Linked DNA regions of Homo sapiens: region 1 is linked to region 2. Evidence: promoter capture Hi-C in human tissues and cell types (Jung and others, 2019). All regions are on one chromosome and are shown on one strand. Each heading gives the region's core, a stretch centred on a gene start or on the middle of the fragment in contact. The rest is flanking DNA. Distances are from core to core; before and after follow the strand shown. Region 1 has its middle 7.6 kb from the start of NTNG2. Region 2 holds the start of LAMC3 (laminin subunit gamma 3).

Region 1 (4,700 bases), core at 612-3,111, 1.1 Mb before region 2:
GAGAATCGCTCGAACCTGGGAGGTGGAGGTTGCAGTGAGCTGAGACTGAATCGCACCACTGCACTCCAGCCTGGGTGACAGAGCCAAAAAAAAAAAAAAAAAAAAAAAAAGATACAGGGACTGGGAGCTGGGAGTGAGTTGGTGCCTTCTCCAGGTTTCATGGCAAGTGAGCCCTGGGCAGGTGAGAACAGCCCCTGTGGACTGGGTGGAAATACTACTGTGCCACTGTGCCTTTGTCTGCAAAGTTTCTTCCACCAGAAGCCTGGCTGGGATCCCTCCAATCCGTGAGTTCCCATGGAAATGTCTCTTTCCCGAGTTCCAGCAGCATGACAGGGAGAGGAAAGCAGCAAAGCTTAGCCCAGAAGAGCCCAGGCTCCTCCAGGCAAAGCTGCTCAGCTCCCTGGCGAGGGGTGGCTGCTGTGAGAAGGAAGCCCACCTCCTCCACACTCCATGGAGCAGCAGACAGCCAGGCAGGCAGCCGGTCTCTCGTCTGGAAGCCCCAGAGGCAGGACCCATCGCTGCTCACTGCCATAAATTCCGGAGTCCCTGAGGACTCCTCAGTCTCAGGAGACAGGATGCAAAGGAGCATTGGCACCCCTTTTTCAGTGAGAGCGGGTAACTGCCCAGCCCTGCCAGCTTCGAGCTCAGGGGGCATCTTCTGGGCAATTGTGGCCTACCCACTGAGTACCTACTGTGGGCCAGCATCCCCCAGCCCTGGGGATGCCCATGGTGACAGATCCACTGGGTCCTGCCTTTGGGGTGCAGCAAGTCTAGTGGGATTATTCACATCTCATGGACCAGGCTGCCTGTGCACCTCACAAAGGTTGTCTGAGCACCTACTATGTGCCAGACACAGGCCAAACCAGGGAGGCGGTGCAGTCTGAGGAAGTGTGAGTGGGTATGTGTATGCCTATGCACACACATGCATGCAGGCATGTGGCAGTATTGCCAAAAACACTAGACAACACAAAGTCAATGGTGGAGGCGAGTCCTACCTCTCAGGATAGGAGACAAGGAAAGCTCAAACTAGGAGCGCCAAGAGCAATCCCCAGGCTTGGTGGGAACCCAGACCTCCACTCCCACCTCTCTGGGCCTCAGTTCCTCACCTGTCAAGTGGTGATAGTCATGGCACCTACCTCCTGGGATTGTTGGACGGATTCACTGAGAAAATGTGTAGGAATTATTTCAGGTAGTAGATGATCAAGAAATGTCGGCTCTGATTAGTCGTCATTGGCCGAGTCTCTCCTCTGGCCAAGGCTCTCTGTTCCACGATGATGGGGAGTCCAGGGGAACATTGCTCCGTGTCAGAAGAGTAATGGGGTTAGACTAACCAGTGTCACCTGGCCATCAAGCCTGGGAAATAAATGGAAACACCAGCCCCAGCTCTCCTCCCAGCCACAGTGTCTCTTTTCACATATGAACAATTCAGAATCTGCTCTTGAATCCGAATCCGAATTTCCACCCTCATCCCACCCATTCCTCTCCTGCTTTTGGGACAGTTTCTCCCGACTCCCAATGTGGGGAGCAGGAGAAGTTGTGGAAGGAGCCGCAGCTGGCCGAGTCATGGAATCTTTCTCCTGGGTCTGCCTCATCCTCTCGCCAGGTGTGCAGGCTTCTCACAGCCTCCCGCTCGGGGCAGCAGGGGCGTGTGGAGGTGATTGAGAAGAGGTTTGCATCAGCAAGGAGAGCAGGAGCTGAGGAAAGGCTGCAATCAGAAGGGAAAATGCATTATCAGCAGGAGGAAGCTGCCTCCCCCTCCCACCCGGCGACTCCTCCCCTAGAGGAAAACATCTTTCTTCCTTATTGGGCAGGGGATCTGGGCCTCCAGGACAGCAAAGCAGATGTGGCCTTCCTCTCAGACATGTGCTGATCACTAAATAATTGACCCACTTATAGAACTACCTGCTCTGTGCCTCAGCCCTCTGCCTCCCACTGCCCCGGGGAGCTCACCAACCCTGCAGCGGCCTTCAGAGCACTGCACCCCCACACCCTGCTCGCTTGATCATTGTCGTCGTTCAAAAAGAGCCCCATGTAGGCCCCACCCCAAAAGCACCCATTTGCAACCATGCAAAGTCCTACACAGATGAACGACAGCTGTAGGCAAGCTGGGCGCAGCGATCTTTGTAACGAAAGGCAGCTGAAAATTCTGAAAGACGACCCACAGCAAGAGAAACTGATCAACAGAGGAGTATTCCCTGGCTGCCTCCTTCCTGATCTCACGTGCACATTCACACATGCTCTGTTGTGTGCAACCATTTCCTCATTAAGTTGTCACCATTGGCATACAAACTCTTGGTCCATCAAAGCACTGAATTCTGAGTCCTGTGACCTTGGCCCTGGCCCTTGTTCTGAATCCTGCCAAAAGGAAACACAGTGATGTTTCCCCAAACATCCCCACATCTGTGCTTTCCAGCAGTCCAGGCTGTAAGACACGGTGAGACAGGGTCCCTCTCTCTTCCTCGTCCTGCCTCCCTCTTGGTCGATCTTTTCTATTCAAAGGAAGGCCTTGGGATCAGGGCTCCCTAGAAGGTGGCAGGTACCATCGCTCACAAAGTCAACTCCTGATCTTGGGAACCAGCTTGGATTTCTTGTTTCATGACACTCGACCTAATGGATGGAGACAGCTCCAGCTGCCACTGGTCTCTCACTCCGTGGACTTGGCTGGCCATTGCCCGCGACCTCTAGGATGTCCACACTTAGCCCATGCTGCCCCCATTTCTGGGGGTGGGACTCCTCCCCCTCCTGGAGGTCCCGGTGAGTTGTCGGCCCTGGAGATTCCTCACAGAGTCTTCTGCCTCCCATCCCTACCCTTCACTCCTTTTTCACTGGGTTCATTTTTTTTTTTTTACTGGTGGAGTAAACACAGACGTGCAGGCTGGGAGGGAAAAGCAGCCAGGGTCACTTGGCCACATGCTTTGCTTTTTGCGTCACCTGGGAGTTGGAGGGACATGGCTTCTCACATTCAAAAGGACTCCCAGGAGATTTTTCTTTTGAATCTGGGAAAACAAAAGTTCTGGGCCCGACTTCCTCTCTTGGTTCTGCTGGTTCTGGAGTCCAACTTGGCTGCACGACGCAGTTCTGTGGTTATCTGGCCCACTCCCTTCCCTGCCCTGCCCAGAGGCTCCTCCAGGACCCCTCTCTGTAGTTCTGATGACCCCAGCTTCTTTCACTGCTTTTGGAGATCACCTTGAGGCCGATGGGACTCTGAGCCAAGCACGTGTGGCGTGGTCACCTGGGGATGCTGAGACGGCCCCAGGATGGTCCTCCAGTGGCCTATATGATGGTCTTTGGCCACATTCGCGGTAAGCTTGACATTTATGAGCCTGGCCTCAGAACCTGACAGCCCGGGCTGAGAGTCCCTGTGCTGCCACTTATGTGTTTGGGCACGCCTTCTCACCTCAATTTTCCATCTGTACAATGGGCACAACAGCACCACCTCTCAGGGTTGTCGTGAGAAGTTAAGAATGCAATGATGAGTGCAGAGTGCTCAGAGGGGTGTAGGAGCCCCACATGTGATCAGCCTGCCGGCAGCAGGTGAACCCTTGACCCTGGAAAGTGTCCCCAGCCTGAGCAGAAGGGCCTCCCCTTACCTAGCACAGCCTTTGGGCCTCTAGCAACAGGGAGTGCTCACCCCACCTCAAAGGGGGAAAGGCCACCTTTGGCTTTGAATTCATAAGATGGTGAACTAGGGCGACATTAGAAGGCAAAGAAAATATACTTTCCTGTCAAATAGAGGGATATATCCCTGAACTCCTGTTCAAATGAACTCATTCTCTGAGGTCAGCTTACAACACCCATTCACTGTGCAGCCAAAAGCACCACCTCTCTCTTCCAAACCCCTACTCGCGCCCCACATAACAGAACATGTGCCAGACCTGGAAGCGGGGGCTCTTCCTTGTCCCTCCTTACAGATAGGGAAACTGAGGCTCTGAAAGGTGAAACAACTTGATCCAAGTCCTACACCAGGATCCAAACACATGCCTGTGACCCCACGGCCAGTGCCTTGACCCTTCCCCGCCCACATTTCTCAGAATTTCTTGCCCCAATTCTGTCCCCTGAAAGCTTTGGGACTGTAGCTGAGTCCCTGACTCCATTTCTGGGGTTCAAGATCTTCATCCATCAAGGGAGGAGTTTGAGCTGGTGGCACCTGAGGGTGCTTCCAGTGCTAACATTTTCAGATAAGCTGCTGGCCTCCCAGGTCCTCTCCTGACACAGGAGTCTCAGCTCACCCAGTACAAATGTTTCCCTGAACGATCAACACAATGACAACTCCCTAAGGAGAGGAGAGACATGCGTCAAGAACAGGATTGTTAGAAGCCTGACATTAACACACCATGCACATGGCACAGGTGACGCCCTGGGCAGCCAGCGGCGCGGCCACTGGGGAACACAGAGGCGGCGGGCCGGGTAGACAGGCCTGAGCTTCTGGTCTGTGCTTTGATTTTTAATTTTTGTCAATGTGAGCTCCAGAAATGCCTTATGGTACACTGGGAAAAACTCTCCTTTTGCAGCTAAATGGCCAAACATGTACCGAGCAACTGCTCTGTGTCTGCAGGGCCTTGGGAGCCCAAGGGTGAGGCTGGAACCTCTTAACCAGGTATGACCAGGCAGTTTCCAGAAAGAACCTCTTGGCATGAGGCATCCATATGTGGGGCTGCTGCTGTCCGGCTGGTCTGCACGAGGGCCACCACTCCCATTTG
Region 2 (5,411 bases), core at 2,692-5,191:
TGGGATGCCGCCTGGGCGAGTCCTTGGTACACGGTGAGAGCCCCGGAATGGTCTGTACCCCCGTCACTGTCCACTCCCCCAACACCCCACTGACTCCCAGGCCCCAGCCCCGTGGCCTCCCTGGGCCTTGGTGGTGGGCTGGGGCTGCCAGAGCCCACTGCTGCCTTTCATCCCAGACAGGAAGGCTCAGCTCAGAGATGACGGGAGGATCCGGAACAGATGTCCAGGAGCCACGGGGGGCTGGGAATGCGGCGACCTCCATCTCCTTCCCTGCCCCTCACCCCATTCCCTCTAGGAGACCCCGGGCCAGAGCTGGCCGCCCACTCTCCCTTCCCATGAGCCTTCAAGGAGAGGGAGCAGTGGGGGGACAGAGCCAGCAGAGGTGGCCTAAGGACCAGGAGGAGAGGTCATCAGACGGCCTCCACAGGGGACACCGACAATCCCAGGCCTCTCCTTCCCCCGCTATTATGCAAGCCATGGCTTAGCCTGGAGCAAACCTAAGTCATAGGAAACCAAAAAGAGGCCAAATCTGGGGCTGCGCTGGGCCCCCGGCGCCCCTTGTGCGTAAACAGAGACCAGCGTCAGGATGTCTTTGAGGAGGCAGGGCGGCCGGGACGAGCATTTCTCAATCCCCGCAAGGGAGCCTCAGCCCTGAGCTGTCTCAGCAGCCACGCTGGTCACACACAGGGACTGCCATGGCTCCGACCCGGGCTCATGAACCCGAACAGCTGCTCAGGAAGTGGCGACTCTTATCCGTACGGTACAGGTAAGGAAACTGAGGCTGAGAGAGGGGACTCCGCTTGCCCAGTGAGTGGCTCTGCTGGGCCTAAGTCCAAAGCCTCCTTTCGTGATTTCTATCCTATTCTGCCTCCCAGAGCAGGCAAAAGAGAATGCTGAGCTGGCCCCAGAGCACAGGACAGAGGAGGTGACCCTGTCACTCACACTTGTGGACTCTCTCCTATATGCCTGGTTTTCGGCGACAAAACAGGAAGAATGCTCACCGGGATAAGACACAGCAGGGAGTGTGTGTGTGTGTGTGTGTGTGTGTGTGTATGTGTGTGTGTGTTCGCTCTCTACATTCACAGTGTGGAGGCTCTCAGGTTCCTTGCTTTTAGAAGGATCAGAACCACTCTGCTTCTAAGGTTCTAGGCAGAGTTCCACGAGGGTGCACAGCTCAGCACAGGGCCTGGCACACAGTAGATGCACAGTAAACAGGAACTACCTCAAATCCAAAAACTTGGCCATTTCTCCCAACTTCCTCCCACCTTGTTTGTGCCTGGGCTGAGCTCTTTCCTTGGCCCCTGGGTTCCCAGGACACATGTGATACCCTTTGTCATGGAGCACTGTGTCTCCCCAACAACTCCCCACCCTGTCCCAGATTCCTTCCCCTGTGGCCTTGGGGTCCTGCCAGCTCCATCCAGACAGCTCCCCCAGCCTCCCCCCTCCCCACTGGCTTCCTGTCCCCTCCCCCTCGTCCCATTCAGAAGCCCCACCTAGTGATCCAGATAGGCTGAGAGAAGGTGACGTGGCCCCAGAAGAAGGGAGTTTCTGAGGTGGCAGCCAGTACCTGTGTGCTCTGCAGAGCGGGCTCACGGTCCTCCCCGCACCCCACTCCAATGTCACTTCCCAGCCCTCCCCAGGACACTGTCACCAGGCTGAGGTGGAGCTGACTCAGTTGATGGGTGGCGGAACTCACATCAAAGAGTTTATGCTCTGACCTCTGATGTCCATGGATGTCCACGCTCAGATGCTCACTTAGCAGCTCTGTGCCTTTGGGCAAAACAACCTCTCTGAGCCTCAATTTTCTCAGCTGAAACATGGGATACAGTCCCATCATCCCTAATCCAAACTCCTAGGCTCCAAATGTGTTTGGGAATTGAACATTTTTCAGCTTTTAGAAAGACGATGCAGGCCTTATACCATATATTGTGCTAATACCCCCAGTGGGGTCTGGGGCTGCCGGCTGTACTCAAATGAGATTTCAGTAGCAAAGCGAATGAATATTCATTCTCACTAGCATAAACATAGCTTATAAATAGCCTCAGGTCAGGTTTAGCAGCAAAAATGAGTTATAAAAATAATTTGAGTTTTCAAAGCTTTGGGAGGCTGACCTCGAAGATAAGGGAGTCTAACCAGTGATACCAGCCCCTCCTGAAAGGGCAGTGGAGGCTGCAACAGGAAAGACACTTGGCGCTTACCCGGCCACAGAGGACATGGGAATCGGGCTGAACACGGAGGGAGGAGAGAGCATTCCAGCTCCCTGCAGTGGGGGCAGGGGCTGAGAACCGGGGCTGGGTCCAGACTCCAGATTCTGATTCCTGGAGATCTAAGGGCTTCTGCACCTCGGCAAGTCATGAGCAGGGCAGAGAGGCCATGCCACCGGGCGCAGCTGCCCAGCAGCACGAAGAAACTTAGTCCTCCTCCCCAGAGGGTTAAACTTTGCCTGTGCAGTGATGAACATCACAGCTTCTATCTTCCAGAACCCACCCGAGGACTGCAGGCAGCTTCAGGGGTCCACTGAATACCTGAAGTTGACCAGAAGACCCAAGATCAGGAGCCCCTGCCCTAGAGGGTGACCAATTCAGTCCTTGGTGTGTCACCTCCCCAACAGTTCTGGTCTAGGATGGAAAACCATTACAGGGGATTATAATTGCAACCTAGAACCAAAGCTCAGCAAGTGACTCCCTGCCTCTCCCGCCCCACGGGGCACCCCTCAGTCTATCCTTCTGGCTATCTAGGGGTACAGGTCCTGTTTTTTTTTCTTCTTTTTTTCATTCTTTCTTTTTATTAAGAGATAAGGTCTCACTCTGTAGCCCAGGCTGTAGCACAGTGGCACTATCATATTTCATGCAGCCTCAACCTCTCAGTCTTAAGTGATCCTCCTGCCTCAGCCTCTTGAGTAGCTGGGACCATAGGTGTGCACCACCACGCCCAGCTTTTTTTTTTTTTTTTTTTTTTTTTTGAGACGGAGTTAGCTCTGTTGCCCAGGCTGGAGAACGGTGGTGCGACCTCGGCTCACGGCAACCTCCACCTCCCGGGTTCAAGCGATTCTCCTGCCCCAGCCTCCTGAGTAGCTGGAACTACAGGCACCTACCACCACGCCCGGCCAAATTTTCTATTTTTAGTAGAGACGGGTTTTCACCATGTTGGCCAGGCTGGTCTCGAACTCCTGACCTCAGGTGATCCGCCCGCCTCGGCCTCCCAAAGTGCTGGGATTACAGACGTCAGCCACCGCGCCCGGCCTATTTTTCTTTATTTTTTGTAAAGATGGGATCTCACTACGTTGCCCAGGCTGATCTTGAACTCCTGGGCTCAAGCGACCCTCCCATCTCGGCCTCCCAAAGTGCTGGGATTTCAGGAGTGAGCCACCGCACCCAGCCTAATTCCTATTTCTGAGCCCCTCCATCCAACACCATATCTGGGTCCTGCAGCCCAACCTGGGCGCACAGCAGCTCAGGCCTCAGCCTCAGACCCCCAGTGGAGTGGGGACACGGGGTGCGGTGGCGGTGCCCCCAGCCCGCGCTTACCTAGGCGGAGGGTGATGTTGACCGAGGTGGGGTACTGCACGCCGAAGGCCATGGACGGGCTCTGCCACCAGGTGCTCTCGTCCTGGCTGTGGAAGTCGGTGAGGTAGGAGGCGTTGTGGTGGCGCTGGGGGTCGGCGGCGTCGCAGCGCTGGCAATGAGCCCCCGCGCCCGCGGCGCCCACGTGGGGACAGAAGTCCTCGGGCGGGCTGCCGCACGTGTGCGAGGCCTGGGCGAGCCGCCCAAACGCCGCGTTCTCGAACACCGGCAGGCAGCGCTGCGGGCGCCCTGCGCCGTCATAGCACGCGCCCATGCCCGCGCCGGCCGCCCGCGGTGCCAGCAGCGCCAGCCCCAGCAGAAGCGCAGCCGCCGCCATGGTCAAGGGCACCGACGCCGCGCGCTCTGCCGGCCCCGCTCGGCTAGGGTGGGCGCGGACCGCGCGCTGGCCGCCAGGACCCGCCTTCCCCTGCGGGGCGGGGAGGCTGGAGGGAGGGGCGGGCGGCGGCGGCCCCACCCCACTAAAAATACCAGGGACCGCGCCGTCCCCGGGCGCCCACTCCCACCTGCTGGACGTGCCCGGCAGTGCGCGGCTCGGGAGTCTGCCCCAGAGGCGACCCGGGCCTCTTTGAGCCTCAGTTTCCTCGTCTGTGGAGTGGGGTCGGTAAAGATGCAGGCTCATTCTCGCCATTGGGAGGCTTCAATGGCTGCTCATTAAACAGAAACTGTTCAGCAGTGCCTTGGAGTCCTGAGATAAAAGGGGACAAGAGGATCTATCTCTAACTGATCGCTACCGTTTGCGCATCTCCTCCTAGCAATAAAGTGTGCCCTGGACAGGGTTGTGAGATGGCTCCGCATAGCTCCTGTCGCCCTTAACCCTGAAAAGCACTCCTGCTGCCGGCTGCGCTCTGTCCCCACAGCAAAGAGATTCTAACCTGACATTTGTGACAAGGGTACCTGGTCTTATCACAAATGTCACCTCAGAGAGGGCTTCCTTGTCTTCTGCCCCAACCCCCATAAATGCCCCCTTTACTCCCCATTTATTAACATTAGCAAATCGAGGGAGAGAAGTCATTCGATAAAATTTAGCAGCCAGGTCGTGCGCGGTGGCTCACGCCTGTAATCCTAGCACTTTGGGAGGTGGAGGCGGAAGGATAACTTGAGGCCAGGAGTTCGAGACCAACCTGGGCAAAATAGTGAGACCCTATCTCTACAAAAAAATACAAAAATTAGCCCGGCGTCATGGCACAAGCCTGTAGTCCCAGCTACCTGGGAGGCTGAGGTGGAAGGATCCCTTGAGCCCGGGAGGTTAGGCTGCAGTGGGCTGTGATCATGCCATTGCACTCCAGCCTGGCCAACAGAGTCAGACCCTGTCTCGAAAAAAAAAAAAAAAAAAAGGCAGCCATTCCCAGACGAACTCTAAGGAAAATAGAAATAAATTTCCTGGCCTGGCGCGGTGGCTCTCGCCTATAATCCCAGCATTTTGGGAAGTTGAGGAAGGCAGATCACCTGAGGTCAGGAGTTCGAGACCAGCCTGGCCAACATAGTGAAACCCCGTCTCTACTAAAAACACAAAAATTAGCTGGGTGTGGCGGTGCGTGCCTGTAATCCCAGCTACTCAGGAGGCTGAGGCAGGAGAATTGTTTGAACCCGGGGGGCAGAAGTTGCAGTGAACTGAGATCATGCCATTGCACTCCAGCCTGGGCAACAAGAGAGAAACTCCATCAAAAAAAAAAAAAAGAAAGAAAAGAAAGAAAGAAAATTTTTGGAAGCAAGATGAACTGTAGTGGGCTGATTCACTACCAGTTATTTACACATGATTAAAACAATACGGTTGTGGAAAGGACTACAGAATAGACCCATGGAATAAGTTAGAGATTTCAGAACTAT

What was found. The method cuts DNA at HindIII sites, captures the fragments that hold promoters and counts their contacts. A contact is called where the count stands out against the background at its distance.
Region 1: a contact is called between a fragment that was not itself captured here and the fragment with the promoter of LAMC3 in region 2, in 1 of the 25 tissues and cell types used here (liver).

Annotation. Positions count from the first base shown.
Region 1 is chr9:132,152,069-132,156,768 of GRCh38, reverse strand. No RefSeq gene overlaps it. Among named protein-coding and RNA genes, the nearest start is that of NTNG2, 7.6 kb to the left of the region's middle. RefSeq lists an enhancer at 1,796-2,296. The HindIII fragment of the contact is 3,649 bases long and covers 37-3,685 here.
Region 2 is chr9:131,007,704-131,013,114 of GRCh38, reverse strand. It overlaps LAMC3 (laminin subunit gamma 3), which reads right to left and starts at 3,941. Exons shown (of 28, transcript NM_006059.4): 1 at 3,528-3,941. The coding sequence starts at 3,900. RefSeq lists enhancers at 1-313, 314-882. The HindIII fragment of the contact is 10,117 bases long and covers 1-5,411 here.